3 separate regions of the Homo sapiens genome follow, and regions 2 and 3 are each linked to region 1. Evidence: promoter capture Hi-C in 16 types of primary human blood cells and fetal thymus (Javierre and others, 2016). All regions are on one chromosome and are shown on one strand. The core of a region is centred on a gene start or on the middle of the fragment in contact, and the rest is flanking DNA. Distances in the headings are between cores, read along the strand shown. Region 1 holds the start of MIR381HG (MIR381 host gene). Region 2 overlaps MEG8 (maternally expressed 8, small nucleolar RNA host gene). Region 3 has its middle 110 kb from the start of LINC02285.

Evidence for each region. The method cuts DNA at HindIII sites, captures the fragments that hold promoters and counts their contacts. A CHiCAGO score of 5 or more calls a contact.
Region 2: a fragment that was not itself captured here is called in contact with the fragment with the promoter of MIR381HG in region 1 in 1 of 17 cell types (endothelial precursors); the score reaches 5.6 in endothelial precursors.
Region 3: a fragment that was not itself captured here is called in contact with the fragment with the promoter of MIR381HG in region 1 in 1 of 17 cell types (endothelial precursors); the score reaches 7.3 in endothelial precursors.

The regions. Positions count from the first base shown.
Region 1 is chr14:101,043,766-101,046,465 of GRCh38, forward strand. MIR381HG (MIR381 host gene) reads left to right here and starts at 1,392. Exons shown (of 3, transcript NR_104192.1): 1 at 1,392-1,419. It overlaps MIR1185-2 (microRNA 1185-2), which reads left to right and starts at 433; the gene lies at 433-518. It overlaps MIR381 (microRNA 381), which reads left to right and starts at 2,155; the gene lies at 2,155-2,229. It overlaps MIR487B (microRNA 487b), which reads left to right and starts at 2,690; the gene lies at 2,690-2,700. RefSeq lists enhancers at 2,000-2,500, 2,501-2,700. The HindIII fragment of the contact is 10,476 bases long and covers 1-2,700 here.
Region 2 is chr14:100,905,542-100,908,241 of GRCh38, forward strand. It overlaps MEG8 (maternally expressed 8, small nucleolar RNA host gene), which reads left to right. Exons shown (of 51, transcript NR_146000.1): 6 at 557-622; 7 at 1,395-1,591. Among named protein-coding and RNA genes, the nearest start is that of RTL1, 3.2 kb to the left of the region's middle. The HindIII fragment of the contact is 1,853 bases long and covers 424-2,276 here.
Region 3 is chr14:101,230,395-101,233,158 of GRCh38, forward strand. No RefSeq gene overlaps it. Among named protein-coding and RNA genes, the nearest start is that of LINC02285, 110 kb to the left of the region's middle. RefSeq lists an enhancer at 2,001-2,647. The HindIII fragment of the contact is 1,153 bases long and covers 865-2,017 here.

The sequences.
Region 1 (2,700 bases), core at 142-2,641:
AACCAGCCTCAGAGGAGAGACATTGTCTCAGCGCTCTCCAGCTCTGAGAATGCCTGCAGATGCCTTCTTCTCTGATAACTCCATGTCTTGCCGGGCTGAGCCCTCACACCCTGTGCCCCTTTGGAGAAAGGTGATGGTTCCATTGTCCATGTAGCTTGTGGGTATTTGAAGCAGGTTCACCCATGCATGCTGAGCACACTGATAGTCATGCCTACCTGTTCCCTTGTTTAGAAGCCAGTCTCGCCTGCAGGGAGTCCTGGATGTGCCACCTTTCGGGGCCAGGCCACAATGTGCAAGGTGCAGGCCCAGCTCCAGGGTCAGCCAGATGAGGCTTGTCACCGGGCCCCTCCCCCTTGGTCTCAGGCCTCGCAGGAGGAGATGTCCACTCCGGCAAAGACCCGGCATGGTCCTCACCTGCTCTTTGAGCCACCCTTTGGTACTTAAAGAGAGGATACCCTTTGTATGTTCACTTGATTAATGGCGAATATACAGGGGGAGACTCTCATTTGCGTATCAAACTGTCGGAGAAGACACTCATACCCTGCTTGTCTCCAGGACAAAGCCTCGGATGTCAGCCCCTCTCAGGTATGGCCTGGCTTCCATGTCCGGGAACGTGAGGTTGGCTGTGACGCTGCCCCTGGGTTCTGCCTTCGCCCTCTATGCTGGTTCTTCCTGTGGACTCCCTGGAAGCAGTGGGAGAGGAGGGACCTTTTTGTGTGCTCCAAGTTTAATGGTGGTTTGCTTTTTTAAGGATAAATCACACATTGATCTGCCTCTTCTTGGTACCAAGTCATACACAGAAGGCTTCCTGTTCCCAGCATCAGCCTTAGAAGGGGGACCTGGATGTTGGATCATTTCAAGGGGAACACAGACAGCAGTGATGGTGGACCACGGAGCACTGGCTCTGTCTATGCTGTTTTCGAGCCTGGTAGGCCAGCCCCAGGAGGGCTTCCTGGAGGTGGTATTGACCTTGGGGAAGGGGCTGAGGTGTGCTCATCAGCGCTTTTTTTTTTTGATGCTTGGGTGTTCATGATCCAGCTCGCAGTCCCCAGGCTGAATCTGTAAGAATGGTTTGCTTCTATTTGTCATTTGTGATTGCCCATGAAGGCAGCGCTGGGGATGAGCCGTGGGAGCTGTCAGCCCCGCACCAGGTGCGTGCATGTGGGAGGTCAGAGGGCGCCTGCTTCTGCCTCGATGTCTGTGCCCCGTCTCTGACTGCTGGCTTTCTGCTCACACCTAGGATGGCTGCCTGAGAATGGGACTCTTGTTCTGTGTTTGTGGAGACACTCCTTGGGCCGTGTGACTGCCGGCTTTTTACACCCCGACTGCCATGGGGGTCATCTGGACCCGAAGCCAGCTTCAGGAAGGACATTCGCAGCATCCTCAGCCCAAGGAAAGCGAACGTCCAGCTGAAGAGAGGTGAGCACCACGCCTGGGTAATGAGTCACATAACCTGCCACCTGGACCAGGCGGCTCCCGCTCCTCTCCCCTTCTTGAAGGAGAGACCACTGTGGGGAATGGGCTGTGGGTCTGCTTCCTCAGTTACTTGGGGGTACGTGGGGTTTACTACTGTTGACCCTGTGCTCTTTCTTAGCATGGCTTCATGGCCACGATGCCAGCCTCTGGCAGGGGTGGGGCAAGGGCTGGCATGGAGAATGACACTGGTGTCAACGGCTCTGTGAGATGGATGAAGGGATGGTGACCACAGGGCCTTTGCTTTGTCTAAGGTGTAAATTCATCCAGTGCCTGGGACCTCGGTGCTGAGTGCATCCTTAGGAAAACTTCCTGGAGAGGTGCCCACACTGGGAAGGAGATGGTGGTCCCACCCCAGGGAATTCCTATAGAAAGTGAGAAGCTGAGCTCTGCGTGTGCCCAGGAAGGCCCGTGGGGTGGATCTCCTTTTCAGGAACAAGTTCTAATCTGGAGTGATGCCTGGAAAAGAGGCTGATTCTGGTGAAGGGGCACTGGCGTCTGCCCCTTCCTGGCCCCTTTGGGATGGAGAGCTGACCTATGGGCACACAGCTGGCAGGTGGTGTTTGCCACCTGGTCTGCTGATCCCGCATCTCCCACCCCCTCCCCCGCCAGGATGAACCCCGGGAGAGGAGGCCGGCCCCGTGAATGATAGTGAGGAACCTGCCCAGTGCTATTGTTTGGTACTTAAAGCGAGGTTGCCCTTTGTATATTCGGTTTATTGACATGGAATATACAAGGGCAAGCTCTCTGTGAGTATCAAACCTTGTCTTGGACCCAGTCCACACTCAGCAAGGGATGCGGTATGTGTGTGCATGACCGTGTGTATCCGTTTTGTGTGTGGCAAATCGTTCACGGGTCCCCACTTCACAGAGAGGACTTCACGGGCACCTGGATGACTTTAGGGAAGGCAGTGGCCTCTGGGACATCCCCTCTCCTGGTGCAGTGTGGGCGGGGCCAAAAGCATGCACGATGTGTGTGGTCTGGGTCCCTGCTTCCTGAGCGGGAAGTCATCAGCCCGGGCCGATGGCTGGGGTGGCGCTCGTGTGGGGTAGTGGCTTTGTGGTCCCTGCTGTTACTCGGTCCGTGAGTGTGCATGTTCTGCTTGGGGTATGTGACCCGGTCCACTAACCCTCAGCATCTAATTCATCCCCAGGACCGCGCCTTGAAGACGTACCAAGTCCACCCAAGGCAGTGGCTTTCTTTTCCGTGCTAACCTTTGGTACTTGG
Region 2 (2,700 bases), core at 100-2,599, 140 kb before region 1:
GCCCCTCTAGTTCCCTTTTCACTTTGAGGCATTTGCCCCCTGTGAATCAGTTCCCTGCTACTCCAGAAAATTTCTCTCATACCCCAGGCCCCTCTGTTCTTTTAAATGGCACCCTTCACCCCCAGCCCTTCATCTTCTGCACTGTATTTTCACTTGTTGATTTAAAAATCCCTTTATTATGGGAAATTGCAAACAACACAAAAGTAGAGAAAATAGTACGTATTTTTACTGTTTACTCAATTTTCATCTTGCCATTACCCGGACACGGTTGCCGTCAAACCCTGGCCCCTCTTGTTTCATCTAAACCCTAAACTGTCCCTCTACTCCCACTGCCCAACCCCTACCCCTGGACTATTTCGAAGCAAATTTCAGACACCATCCTGTTTCCTCTGAGCATTTTTTAGTTTGTATCTCTAAATAAGAAGCTTTTGTTTCTTAAAAATAAAACCACAACACCATTATCACAAGTTAAAAAATTAATAGCCTTTCCTTAATATCATCCACCATCTATGTAGCATTCCAATATTCTTGATTGACTCATAAATTTCTTTTACAGTTGGCTTGGTCAAGTCAGTGTTCAAACTATCTCCTGCTCTTTCAAGGGGATCTGGGGCTCTAGAAGGTAAGTATGGCTACACATTTAGGGGTTGAATATCTGCCTGGACCTTAAATGAGAAACTCAACCTCAGCAAACCTCAGTGTTCTCACTGAAAATGGGGCAAGTTCTGGGTCTCTCCTTGGGTCATTGAGAGGGTTAGAGCATTAACCCCTGAAGCCCCAGCCGCATGTCTAATATGTCAGAGACACTCAGCAAACAGTAGCTGCGAGAATGATTCTTTTTCCCAGAAACGTTTAAAGGGGATTTGGGCAGGGGCAGGCAAAACATAGCTGGCTATTGTCCATAAAACAAAAGGCTCCTGGCAGTCCAGGTCCCCTGAGTGGTTAAAACAGCACATGCACTACATCCCAAAAAGGGCAGCCTACAGTCTGGGGGCTGGGTTCGCCTGGACCTCCTGGCTTGCCGTTTAGCTGCCTGACCTCAGCTGTTGTGACCTGGGACCAACAGGGGACCCCGGCAGGTGCCTATCCACTAGATGGCACTCTCTACTGTGAGTCCAGGGGGGACCACCACCCCAAACTGCTTTGGCCACTGCCCAGCCCTGGGTGCCACCGGAAGATGCACACCACTAAAACATCGCAGATAATTTCTAAAAAGCACTTCTCAACATGTCATGCAAAAGATGCGGTGGTTTATTTCCTTGCATAAATCCCAACCAGATTGCAGAAGCAGAGGGAATGAACATTTAATGACTTTGCTGAGGCCAGACACTGGTATGTCTACGCTCTCTTTAAATCCTCATCCCAGCGACATCTGATTTCCCTTCATTTTACAGATTAGAGGACTTGGAGAGGTTAGTGACTTGCTCGAGGTCGGCTAGGAAGCAAGACCCAGGATTCCAACTCAGGTCTGTGTGATTCCTCTGCAAAATGGAGAGGTGGAAGGATGGATGTCAGGTCTGATGGATGGATGGATGCCTACATCAAGATACATGCATAGATGGAGAGATGGCTGGCTACCTCATGAATGCTGGTAAGATGGATGAGTGAATTGAAGCACAGGTGGTGGAAGGAGAGAGGAATGAGAGAGGATAGTCAATTTCCCACCAAGATCAAAGGCTTACTTGATCTTTGAAGAGAGGTTCCCTCTGAATGGAGCTTGCTGGTGAAGCTCCTGCCTTCTGTTCTGCTTCTGAGCGCACTGACTGGCTCAGGTGGCTCTGGGACAACAGGTGGGATGCCAGCTTACAGGGACCAAGTCCCAGCTGTGGTGCTGGAGCTGCTCAGTGGCAACTCTCCGTCTCTGCTGCTTTCACGCAGCACTGACGAAGAGCAGGCATCCGCCTTTCCACTGGCTCTCCTGGATGACTAAGCCCTAAGCCCCAACCGCATACTCAGCCCTTCACTGGCACTTGGCATAATTTTATCTCCTCTAAATCATCACAGCCACCCTCCATGATAGCAATTTCTATTCTCAATTAAGTGAAAAGGAAACCGAAGTTTAGGAGTGGTAAGTGACTTACCCAAAATCGTATAAGGAGGAAATGCAGACCCAGGATTTGAACTCGAGTCTTCTTTCCTTCCAAACTCATCCCCTCAACCTGTTTATTTCCTTTTCTCTATGACCATGTCTGAAGAAATCTGCCTTGGGGTTGTCTCATATTGGACTCACTCTCTTGGTCTGTCAGTGAGCTGAACTTCTCATCCAATCAAATCCAAGCTTATTTCCCAAGTAATATCTCTAGTGTATTCTATTTGTAATGATCACACAGGCAAGGGCCACACATATCACTGGCATCCTACAGTACAATTAATCAAGTCAAATTAGATTCCTGGCATCTCATATTCTGACTGAATGCTAATGGTAGTAGATGTAAAAATGACTCCAGTGCAAGGCAAGGAGGGAGGGGACTGGATGTAGGGCTGAATGGCGAATCAGTAAGCCTTGCTGCAGACCTGGGTTAACATTAGCAGATAGGTTTTGAGAACCTGCTCATGGGCTAGGCCCTACTTCACACATTCTAGGTGCTAAGGTTTCAATCTCAGCTTTGCCATTGACTACTTTTGTGAGTTTGGACAAGGTATTTAATTTCTGTGCCGCGTTTTCTTCAGTTGTACCAACAGTACCTTACTAATACCGAT
Region 3 (2,764 bases), core at 191-2,690, 190 kb after region 1:
ACTTCCCTTCCCTGCTTCCGTATCGTTTAAAGGGACCACGCTCTTCCCTTCCCAGCACTCCTGTATCATTTGTGCCTGCTTCCAAGTCTGTGAAATGGGGATAGAGGTGTGATTGTGGATAAGATGGGGTCACCCCAAGGAAGGGCTCAGCGAGGACAAGGGCACAGGGAGGGTGTGAGGACCTCATCCCATGCAGGGACTTGCAGGTGTGTGAGCCTTGGCCCTTTCTGAGGCTGAGCTGACCATCAGTGCCCTGTCTAGGGCACCATGCCTAGGCCTGGGCTGTGGTGGTGCCCACCCTAACCTGTGCAGGTGCCTCACCCTGCTGTCTCGAACAAGCTGGAAAGCTCCAGAACCACAGCCTGAGCATTGCACCCTAGGTGACCACTAGGTCCAAGGACCAGGCCAAGGGAGAGGACAGAGCTGCTGCAGGGCCACAGAGACCTGGTGTGAGGCTGGGTCATGGATGAGATTTGGGCCCTCATCTATGAAGTGGGCCTCTGGAGCCACTGTGCTCAGTGTGGGAGGATTGAACAGGACCATGTATATAAACCTCCTATCAGGACTGGGCACATAGCAGGTGCTCAGGAAAGGCACGAGTACCTGCCTCACCCTGCAGGTGGGCACAGTGCCCAGCCAGGTTTACAAGGTTGTCTGCCTGTAGCTCACTCTCACCTTGCAGCCTCTGCCATTTGGATGCGTGCCCTCAGCTTTCACGGGGGGCAGTTACAAGAAGCAGTTTTATGAGACTCATCACCGCATTTGCTGTCCAGATGCTGTTGGGGACATTATCCATTTTTCATTTCAGGGCCACCTAGATGGAGCCTCATGAGAAAAGCATCTTTCAGAGCCAAAGCTAGAAAAAGCTTTGCACCTTCCAGAGCACTGAATGACTGCTGTCTTTGACAGAGCCTTTTCCTAACACTGGTGTGCAAAGACACTGCTCTGCTCAGCTCATGGGACGGTCTCCAGGATGATGACAGTGGCCCCATACATTTTCCCCTGGGGTCTCACATATTCTCTGTGTGCCCTGATGGATAGAGAGTTGGGAAATCTTATTCTAAGGGATTGTGAAGACAACTGAACTAATCTTATTTCCCTTTTCATTTTGGCTTCCAGGAATCTCAGAGACAAATTCAAAACTTCAGACAAATCCACTCTACAGGACCTATTGGCCTGTATATTTGTGTTTTACTTTTCTCTTTGCTGTTCAGTTCTTCTCATGTATATTTACTCTTACCTGGGACCTTTTGTGTGTTTGTGTTTCACTTAGTTTTGCTATATCGTGCCTGTAGGCTGAGGTGTTCCTTCATGAAGTGAGACAGAGTTTGAGTAAATGTTTACATGTGTCAAGCATGAAACAGACCCCAAACCCCACACAGCCCACAAGTCCCAGGAGCCAACCCTATGCCTTCCCCTCCTCCTGTATTCCTCCTCCATGAGCCTCTGCATGTTCAGAACCTACCTTGGATGCCATGGCCTTTAGACAGCAAATCCTCCTAGCAAGAGCACACAGACCTACTCTCAGGGTCACACTTCTGATTCAGGATTTCAGAGTTCCAGGAGACACCTGGCCCTGGTCCTTCCTTCTAGGGAATGTCGAGGCCAAGAGGGTGGGTGGCAGGTCCCAGGTCACAGAGTGTGGTGGTGGCCTGGCCTTGAAGCTGGCTTTCCTCACTTTCACCCACACGGGTCACGCACCAGCTAATCCACCCCCAGCTTCCAAACAAGGCGATTGTCTCTGGGGTGGAAGATTCCATATAAACATGAGATTAATTTTGTATTATTATTGACTGAGTGTCAGTTGCCTTGGCTGGAGGTTTTGGGGTCAGGATGAAAACTGGATGCTTTTGCCCACCAAACCTTTCAACAATGTGGGAAACACCACCCCACAACCAGACCACCAGACCTCCCTGCGGAGCTGGCAAACACCGCCGCCAGGGCCAAGGGAAATGGCAAAGTCAGAGAGGCATGACTTGGTTTGTGAGGAGGAGAGGAAAAGGGCCTTTCAAAACAAAGCTTGGGACAGCCCATCGGGCCTCTTTCTCCTTGCCTAGCAGAATTCTTGGTGACATGTTGCCAGCGTTCAAGCACAGTGCACACACATGAATGCCTGCATACACATGCCCACATACACATGCCCACACATGTGCCCCCCCACAGGCAGGTACGCACACAGTCACGCACACACAGACGTGAGCATATGCACTCGCACACACACACACGGTCACGTGCATACATCCGTACACACATTCTTGTAAGTGCACACACACACGCTCACATGTAAGCACGCACACACACATGAACACACAAGTGCCCCCACACACAGTGCTGTCTAGTGCTAGCCTCGGTTCCTTTCTGTGCCATCGCCCATGATTAATGTGGATGCTTTCATGAATGTGTTTTCTCTCGGCGCCGGGCCTGTGCTTAGCCCGCGTAAAGCAGTGCTCTCAGGCCCAGGAGCTGGGGTCTGGTTAAAGCGGTGCCTCGCTGTCAAAAAATGTTGGCAGCTGGAGAGCAGAGTTTGCAAAGGCCAAGAGGAGACGTGTGGCAAAATGAGGGTGCACAGTGCACCCTGGGCCTCAGGGGCTTCCTGAAAACCTGCCCTTCCTCAGGCCCCAAGGGCCCACGGCACAGACCACTCCACCCCGCACCATTCCTCCCCACACTGCTCCTTCCCGCGCATTCTTGCTCCTGCCCCGGCGGGCTGTTTGCAAAAGGTGCTGGCAGGCGTTTCCCCAGGAAGGCCAGGGCCTCCTGCATG